3 separate regions of the Homo sapiens genome follow, and all the other regions are linked to region 3. The links are contacts of gene promoters, found by promoter capture Hi-C in blood cells and fetal thymus (Javierre and others, 2016). All regions are on one chromosome and are shown on one strand. Each heading gives the region's core, a stretch centred on a gene start or on the middle of the fragment in contact. The rest is flanking DNA. Distances are from core to core; before and after follow the strand shown.

The links. Contacts are between HindIII fragments. The CHiCAGO score rates a contact against its expected background, and 5 or more counts as called.
Region 1: a fragment that was not itself captured here is called in contact with the fragment with the promoter of EIF5 in region 3 in 1 of 17 cell types (activated CD4 T cells); the score reaches 5.8 in activated CD4 T cells.
Region 2: a contact is called between the fragment with the promoter of ZNF839 here and the fragment with the promoter of EIF5 in region 3, in 5 of 17 cell types (naive CD8 T cells, total CD4 T cells, monocytes and 2 more). The highest score is 9.8, in naive CD8 T cells.

Annotation. Positions count from the first base shown.
Region 1 is chr14:102,089,579-102,092,403 of GRCh38, forward strand. It overlaps a transcript of HSP90AA1 not described here. Among named protein-coding and RNA genes, the nearest start is that of HSP90AA1, 3.9 kb to the left of the region's middle. The HindIII fragment of the contact is 179 bases long and covers 1,296-1,474 here.
Region 2 is chr14:102,318,347-102,321,046 of GRCh38, forward strand. ZNF839 (zinc finger protein 839) reads left to right here and starts at 1,400. Exons shown (of 8, transcript NM_018335.6): 1 at 1,400-1,707. The coding sequence starts at 1,420. RefSeq lists silencers at 1,460-1,559, 1,620-1,809 and an enhancer at 1,910-2,019. The HindIII fragment of the contact is 5,518 bases long and covers 1-2,700 here.
Region 3 is chr14:103,332,922-103,335,621 of GRCh38, forward strand. It overlaps EIF5 (eukaryotic translation initiation factor 5), which reads left to right and starts at 1,316. Exons shown (of 12, transcript NM_001969.5): 1 at 1,316-1,339; 2 at 1,468-1,676. It overlaps EIF5-DT (EIF5 divergent transcript), which reads right to left and starts at 1,739. Exons shown (of 1, transcript NR_158216.2): 1 at 1-1,739. RefSeq lists an enhancer at 772-891 and silencers at 1,212-1,631, 1,772-1,821, 1,932-2,171. The HindIII fragment of the contact is 3,190 bases long and covers 1-2,700 here.

The DNA of each region.
Region 1 (2,825 bases), core at 135-2,634, 1.2 Mb before region 3:
TTTGCCCCCAGGAAATCTTGTCCAGCACTCTCACTAATAGAACTTGTGTGCAGATGACTCACGGAAGAGCCCGGCCAGGACTCAGCTCCAGACCTGGATGCTGAGCCTCATGAGCTTCCCCCCTGTCTCCAGCCCTCTTTGAGGGCTCGTTAGCCAGGTCACTGACTATCCCACCTTAAAGAACCCCAAGCATCCCCACAACGGATCTGGCACTGAGTCCTGCCACTTCTGCCTCCTAAGTACCTCTTGAACCCAGCCACTTCCCTCCACCTTCATCCCCCGCTTCCACACAACCGTCAGCTCACCTGGAAGGCCTCCATAACCACCTAACTGCTCCCTGCATATGGTCTGGTCTGTCTCCAAACTGTAGCCAGGGTGAGCTTTGAGAACACAGACCTGGCCCTATCTATTCCCTCCTCCCCACCCTCTGCAAATTCTAGCTGACTTCCCATCCTTCTAGGAGGAAGACAGAGCTCTTTAGGCCTGTGAGGCCCTGCAGGTCGCTGCTGCCTCCCCATACAGCGCCAGTTCCCACTGTGCTCCTATTTCTGTGTCTGGCGCACTCCCCATGACTCGCCCCCACGAGGCTGTGCAAATGCTGTTCCCTCTGCCTGGAACACCATTCCCTCTGTTCTTCTCTAATTAATTTTTAATGGATCTTCTGCTCACACATTTTCTTAGGAACCCCACCTGCCTCCCACCAGGCCAGGTGTCCTGTCATGGAGAGGTTCTCAGAATGTGGTGCCCTCTCCTTCAGAGTACAGACCACATGTGCTCCTCTGCTTCCTCTAGCCCTCCAACCCCAAGTTCTTCCACTCCTGCTTCACCGCCTTTTCTGTCCAGCCTCCTCCTCTTCCTTCCTCAACAACATATTTCTTTTTTTTTTTTTGAGACGGAGTCTTGCTCTGTCGCCCAGGCTGGAGTGCAGTGGTGCGATCTTGGCTTGTTACAAGCTCCGCCTCCCGGGTTCACGCCATTCTCCTACTTCAGCCTCCCTAGTAGCTGGGACTACAGGCGCCCGCCACCACACCTGGCTAATTTTTTGTATTCTTTAAGTAGAGAGGGGGTTTCACCGTGTTAGCCAGGATGGTCTTGATCTCTTGACCTTGTGATCCGCCCGCCTTGGCCTCCCAAAGTGCTGGGATTAGAGGCGTGAGCCACAGTGCCTGGCCTCAACAACGTATTTCTAATAGATCACCAAGCCTTGCAGATTTAGCATCCTAAATATTTGTTGACCTCGTCCCACAGTGATGTTGCTGTTAGGGCAATCTGACCATTTTCCTCCTCTATTTGAAAGCTTTCAGTGTCCCTCAGTAAAGCTGGAGCATGGATTCTGGATCCAGGTGGCCTGGATTCAGATCTTAGCTCAGCCACTGCCTGTGTGACCCAGGGCAAGTCACTTACCCTTTCTATGCATCCAGTTCAGTATCTGTAGCATAGACATGAACATGTCTTCTTCATAGAGTGGTTATGAAGCTTAAATGAGCCACTTCTGGTTTTGGAGATGGCTCAGGTGATAGCCTACCCCATAGCAATTTATGCCCCCTCACTTGCTTGCCAGGCAGCAGGCTAGCTACTTTGCATGCAGTTTCTTAGTCCTCTCGACTCTGAAGTAGGTGTCTTTGGTCCCACTGTACAGTTGAGAACACTGAGGCTTAGGAGAGGTAAGTCCTTTACTCAGGGTCACCCAGAGCAAGGGCCTCCAGGGCAGTTACACCCAGGTCTGGCTCATGATTTTTGTTTTATCCTGATAAACAGTCTCAGCTGGGTGCAATGGCTCACACCTGTAATCCCAGCACTTTGGGAGGCTGAGGCAGACCAATCAATTGAGGTCAGAAGTTTGTGACCAGCCTGGACAACATGGTGAAACCCCATCTCTACAAAAAATACAAAAAAATTTAGCTGGGTGTGGCAGCACACACCTGTAGTCCCAGCTACTCGGGAGGCTGAGGCAGGACAATTGCTTGAACTCAGGAGGCAGAGGCTGCAGTGAGCCGAGATTGCACCACTGCACTCCAACCTGGGCAACAGAGTGAGACTGTCTCAAAAAAACAAACAAACAAAAAAAGAGACAGTCTCACTCTCTTGCCCAGGCTGGAGCACAGTGGCACAAACATGGTTCACTACACCATCAGCCTCCTGGGCGCAAGTGATCCTTCTGCCTCAGCCTCCTGAGGAGCTGGGACCACAGGCATGTGCCACCACACCCAGCTAAATTTTATTTTTTTTGTAGAGATGAGGTCTTGCCATATTACCCAGGCTGGTCTTGAACTCCTGGACTTAAGGAGTCCTCCCACTGTGGCCTCCCAAAGTGCTGGGATTACAGGTGTGAGCCACCACAACTGCCCTTGGCTCATTCATTTTGATACATTTTCTCATTTTCATTCAGCTCAAAATATTTTTAAAATTTCCTTTTATTTCTTGACTCATGGGTTATTTTTACATGTTTTACTTTTCAAATAGTTGGAGGTTTTTCAGATTTTTTTTGTTACTGATTTTTTTTTTTTTGAGACAGTCCCGCTCTGTCGCCCAGGCTGGAGTGCAGTGTCGCGTGCTCTTGGCTCACTGCAACCTCCGCCTCCTGGGTTCAAGCAATTCTCATGCCTCTGTCTCCCAAGTAGCTGGGATTACATGCATGCGTCACCACACCTGGCTGACTTTTTTGTATTTTTAGTAGAGATGGGCTTTCACCATGTTCACCAGGCTGGTCTCAAACTCCTGGCCTCAAGTGATGTGCCTGCCTCGGTGTCGCAAAATCCTGGGATTACAGGAGTGAGCCACCATGCTATTATTGATTTCTAATATTTAATTCCATTGTGGTCAGA
Region 2 (2,700 bases), core at 150-2,649, 1.0 Mb before region 3:
ATCTGGTCGGGTGTGGTGGCTCACACCTGTAATCTCAGCACTTGGGAAGGCCGAGGCGGGCGGATCACCTAAGGTCAGGGTTTCAAGACCAGCCTTACCAACATGATGAAACCCCGTCTCTACTAAAAATACAAAAATTAGCCAGGCATGGTGGCGGACGCCTGTAATCCCAGCTACTCAAGAGGCTGAGGCAGGAGAACCGCATGAACCCAGGCGATGGAGGTTGCGGTGAGCTGAGATTGTGCCACTGCACTCCAGCCTGGGTGACAGAGTGAGATCTTGTCTCAAAAAAAAAAAAAAATTGTGGTAAGATACCCATAATATAAAATTCACCATTAAAAAATAACACGGAAGGGATCATCGTGAATGCAATGTGAGTATTGATGAGGATGGTGGTGATCTTCCAGAACCTTCTCTGACGCCACCCAGGCCGCCAGCCTTACTTTACCGGCTTCGGCGCTCATCATACTGTGCTGCAAATGCCAGTTTCCTCCTTCCCCCTTGGGAAGTTTCCTCCTTGGGGGTCGGCACCTAGACTGTATACCCCCCAGGGCGGAAACAGCGGTTCACCCACCAGGTGCTTAAGAAGGGTTTGTGGACCAGTGGACCTCCTGCTCTCCCTGGGGAAAGGAGCTGGGACATGTGTACACACCTGCAGCTACAAGATTCGGAGGGCGCACAGAGCCTCAACCGTAAGAAGGAGAGGCGATCAGGCTGAGGAAGATGGGGCAGTGGAGCTGGATGGATAGAGAGAGGGTGGGTTCATTCATTCGTTCACTCATTCGTTTATTCATATTCATCCATCCATCATTCATGCCCTGAGCGTGCGTTGTGTTCTGGGCAGGGCCTGTGCTGGGCACCGATTGTGTAATATATCATCTCTCCCTTCAAGGTGCACCCAATCTGGGTGGGTGGGTAGAGAGAAGCTACGGTGACAAGGCAAAAATTTGGGAAACACTCTCGTTAACAATTCAAACTGTGGTCCCCTCCCAGATGTATAAATCCAAATGTTTAGGGGTGGGCACAGTACTCTGCATCTCCAGACAGCATCCTCCGCTGATTCGGATGCATGATGACGTCAGAACACTTGGATATTGTGGTAACTTTTGGGCCAGGGGCTCTGAAACCCCGAAGACCTCCCCCTGGGAGATCCGGGACAGCTCCCAGAGAAGGTGAGTCTTAAACACATCCGTGACAGGCAATAAGGAAAATAAGGGGGGTCCGCTCTGCTGATCAGCCCTAAGAGCCGCGGCGGTTGTCGGCTGGGGCGGGGCACTCCACGACTTTCCCGGCCAGACACGGTCGCCTTCCTAGGTGTCTTGGCCTGCGAGGCACTCGTAGCCCGCCCCTCTCCTAGGTGACGTACATTGGAGACGCCGTCGCTCAGCGACCCGGGTTCGAGTCCCCGCCTCGGCCGCCATGGCGGATGCGGAGCCGGAGGCTGGGGGCGGCAGCGAGGATGGCGGCGGCGGCGGCGGCCCGGCTCCTCCGGGCCAGAGCGGCAGCGTCGCACGTGTGGCCCCGCTGGGCCCCGAGCAGCTGCGGCAGGTCCTGGAGCAGGTGACGAAGGCGCAGCCGCCGCCGCCGCCGCCCCCCTTCGTGCTGCGGGACGCGGCGCGGCGGCTGCGGGACGCGGCCCAACAGGCCGCCCTGCAGCGGGGCCGGGGCACCGAGCCCCCGCGCCTGCCGCGCCTGCTCCCGCCCCAGGTGAGGCGTCGGGAGGGACGTGGGGAAACTGAGGCCCGAAGGGGGCCGACGCCCCGCGGCGGGGTAGCTGCTTGTCCGGGGAGGCCAGTATCCGCCCGGGTTAAGACTCAGGGCGTCCCCAGGCTGAGCTTCTTAGGGACGGCGTTCGGCCCCCACCTGTCACCACCCTGGCATTTTCACCCCAGGAGCCTCACTCTAGGAGCGGTTGCTCACGCTGGGCCCTGTGCCTGGAACGCCCTCGTGCCTTCTCTGCCTTCACAGCCCTGCTGGGGGCTTTTGCGTGCTCCCTAGCTCTTCTTACAGGCCTTTCACCGCTGGTTCAGCCTTTGTGGAGCACTTAGAGACCGTGTTCCCAGCACTCCCCACTATGTGCAGGAGGTGAAGCCTTGAACACACTTGCTGAAGAACGAACATAAGGCAGGTTCTGGGATTGACGGGGGCTGCTTTAGAGTGGGTGGTCCCGTAGGCCAGACACTGGAGCTGAAACATAAATGAATTAAAAGGAACCAACTTAGCTTTTCAGTTGTAAGGTGCCAAGGCCCAGGCTTGGAACAAAGTCAAGCACAATACACTAGTTCGCTGCAGGACTTAACATCCTGGGTGATAGTGACTGATTTGTAACCGCAGTACCCAGCACAGTGCCTGATACACAATGTTTGGAATATGTGAAAGCACTCTGTATACTACAAAACATCCTTTCCCAGTGGGTTTATTTCCTGGGCCACACACCTTTTGGTTGCTAGGGGGGTGATAACTAGAAGACGGTCGCCCAACTCCGGAGGGTGAAGCATAGCGCCTGAAGCCAGAGGGCCTACACGGCATCTGTAAAATTCCACCCCATTTCAGCGCTGGGGTTGTAAACAAAATTAGTCTCACCCCAAAATTGCCAAAAGAAGACAGCTTTTTCCACTAGAAGAAACGGGTTAGGGAATAGAATCAGGAACCTTCACTCGTTGAGTTTTTTTGACTGATGTTAGCTGCTTAGGGTTGTAT
Region 3 (2,700 bases), core at 66-2,565:
GAGACAGTCTCGCTCTGTTGTCCAGGCTGGAGTGCAGTGGTGTGATCTCGGCTCACTGTAACCTGTGCCTCCCGGGTTCAAGGATTCTCCTGCCTCAGCCTCCCGAGTAGCTGGGATTACAAGCGAGCCACCACGCCCAGCTAATTTTTTGTATTTTTAGTAGAGACAGGGTTCCACCATATTGGCCAGGCTGGTCTCAAATTCCCGACCTCAGGTGATCCGCCCACCTCAGCCTCCCAAAGTGCTGGGATTACAGACGTGAGCCACCGCGACCGGCCTAAATAATAGTAATTTTCAACGGAATACATTGGAATCTCATTATAAATGCCTGCTCTGGGCTACGATTTGCTTATCAAAGAATTCACAAGTCATAAACTAGAGGGGGTGGACTCGACGTGATGCCCACTAGGAGAAAGGTGACAAGAGAAGCACGAAGGATAGCGCTTTTCAACCCTGGGAGAGCAGGGAGGCCTTCACCAGAAGGTGGGAACCCACCACGAAGCGCCTTCAGGAGGCCCCAGGATTCCAAACCAATTAAGGGCCTCCTCTTCCGAAAACGGGAGGCGACGCGCTGAGCTAAGCGCGCAGGCTGGGTTGCGGGCCGACACCGAGGCGGCGCGGCCTCGCGACCGCCCTGGGCGGTCACTGGCGAGTCACGGACTCGTTCCGCCAGCGGCCAATCCACCCCGAGTCCGAAACAGAAGACGTCCCTGGGATGAAAGACCCAGGCCTGGGGCTTAAGGTGGAAAAACAACTCATTCCTCGAGGCCCGGAGTCGGGCGTCCCGGGAGAACGGGAAAGGGAGATGAGCGCCCGCTGCGGGGAGAACGCGGTCGGGTTCCTCTCCCCGAAGGTGGCAGCCGCAAAAACACGGCCTCGAAAGCAGTTTCGAGGACGATGGCTCCTGCGTCCCGGGAGTCGCCATGACGCCGCGGCCTGTCCCAGACCCGGCGAGGGAGGGGACCAACCACCATCTCCCCCTCAAGGCCCAAACCGACAAAGAACGGCCCCCGGTACCCCGGCCCCGCCACCAGGGCCACTCCGGGTCTCGCGAGACCCAAGGGCTGCGCCGCGAAGACCTCTGGGAAAGGCGGGGGGAGGGGAGAGGAAGGAAGCGAGACCGGGGCTGGAGGCGGGCCGAGGCCGCGAGTTGAGCCTCAGGAAGCAGAAGGGGCGCGGAAAGATGCGATTGACGTCGCAAGCGAACCAATGACGAGCGAGCTGTGGCAGGCCTCCAGCCAATGGGCAGTGAGGCCTGACGCGGGGGGCGGACGCTGGGGCCGAGGGTAGCTTGAGCGCGGCGGCGGCGTTGTTCAGTCAGAGCGAGAACATTCCAGAGGTGAGTCCGGTGAAGGGGCGGCCCCCTGCCCGGTGCTTCCCGCCCCCTCGACCCCTCGGGCCGCTGGCTGGCGGGGAAGGTGCACTCCCCGACCGCCCACGGCTCACGGCGCCGTCTCTCCGCGCCAGGTCGCCCAGCTCCGGCGCTGACGGGTGTGGACCGCGGACGTCGCTGGGACAGCCCCTCCCCGCTGCTCGGCGGCGGCACCTGGCCCGGCCGCTCCTCGCTGCGCTTCGCCTCCGCCTCCTCGGACTCGGACTCGGGTTTATATCGCGCCTCACTTCATCCCAGTCCCGGGCGAGCAGCGTTGGGTTTATGTCTTTATTTGACGAAAACGGTGAGTCGCGGGCGCGGCGGGCCAGGAGATGGCGGCCGCACAAGATGGCGGCGGCCGCCGCGTGACCCCGCCGCGGCGTGTGGCGCAGTTTGGGCGGACGGCGGGCGGGCGCGGGCCCGGGCGCCGGCCGCCCCCTCCCCGCGCGCTCCCCGGCCCGGCCTCGCCCCCTCCCCGGCATGGCGGGAGCGCGTCGCGCGTGCCCGCCGCTCGGGCTGACTCAGGCTTCAGCTGCTGCATTTGTGAGTCATCGCGCGCTCTGGGGCGGGGGCGGCCCGATCCCGGCACCCCTCGGCCGTGTGTCGCTTCCCGGCTGTGCACCCTCCGGGGCCGCCGGCTCTCGGGGGACGCGCTGGGGATGGGGCCAGACGCCCCGGTCGCGCGCCCCCCTCCTTCGCGGAGCTGCCCGGTTCGCCAGCCCCCGCGGAAACGCCTCGGAGCGCGGTAGCCATGGGGACCAGGGCGAAGGTTAACCGAGTATTTGAATAGCGAGGAAAAGGGAGGCCGGGGCGAGCCTGGCGTTCGCTCGCGCTCTCTTGCTTAATGGCAAATTGTGGGCGAGCGCTGCGTTTAAGGAAGTGCTGCTTTGAAGTAAGCCATGGTTGCCGAAGCAACGATTAGTTGTAGAGAACAGTTCCCTAGGTTGCCCTTAAAAATGAAGACGAACGGGGGTGTGCCTGAGAAGTTTGCTTATCCAGGCGGGGTGGGCGGCGGAGAGGGCTCGGGTTCGTTCTTCAGCACTTCCAGGATGGCCGCAGAGGCAAACCTGCTGATTGCCCTCGGTCTGATGGAATCTCACGGCGGCTGAGGCAGCACAGCTTGTGTTTTCTTGTCAGGCATTTCCCTACCAGTCACAGCTTAGTCGAAATGGAGGCCTTTTTATGTTCCCGCAGATTGTACTGTGTTACATGAGAATGGCTGTTTGCATGTGATCTCAGATGCTTTTTAAGGTGGAGTTAAGCAGAAGCATAACTAGGATGTAAAAAGGAGGCGTTTCCATCCAGCGATGATGTTAAACCTGGGGGGA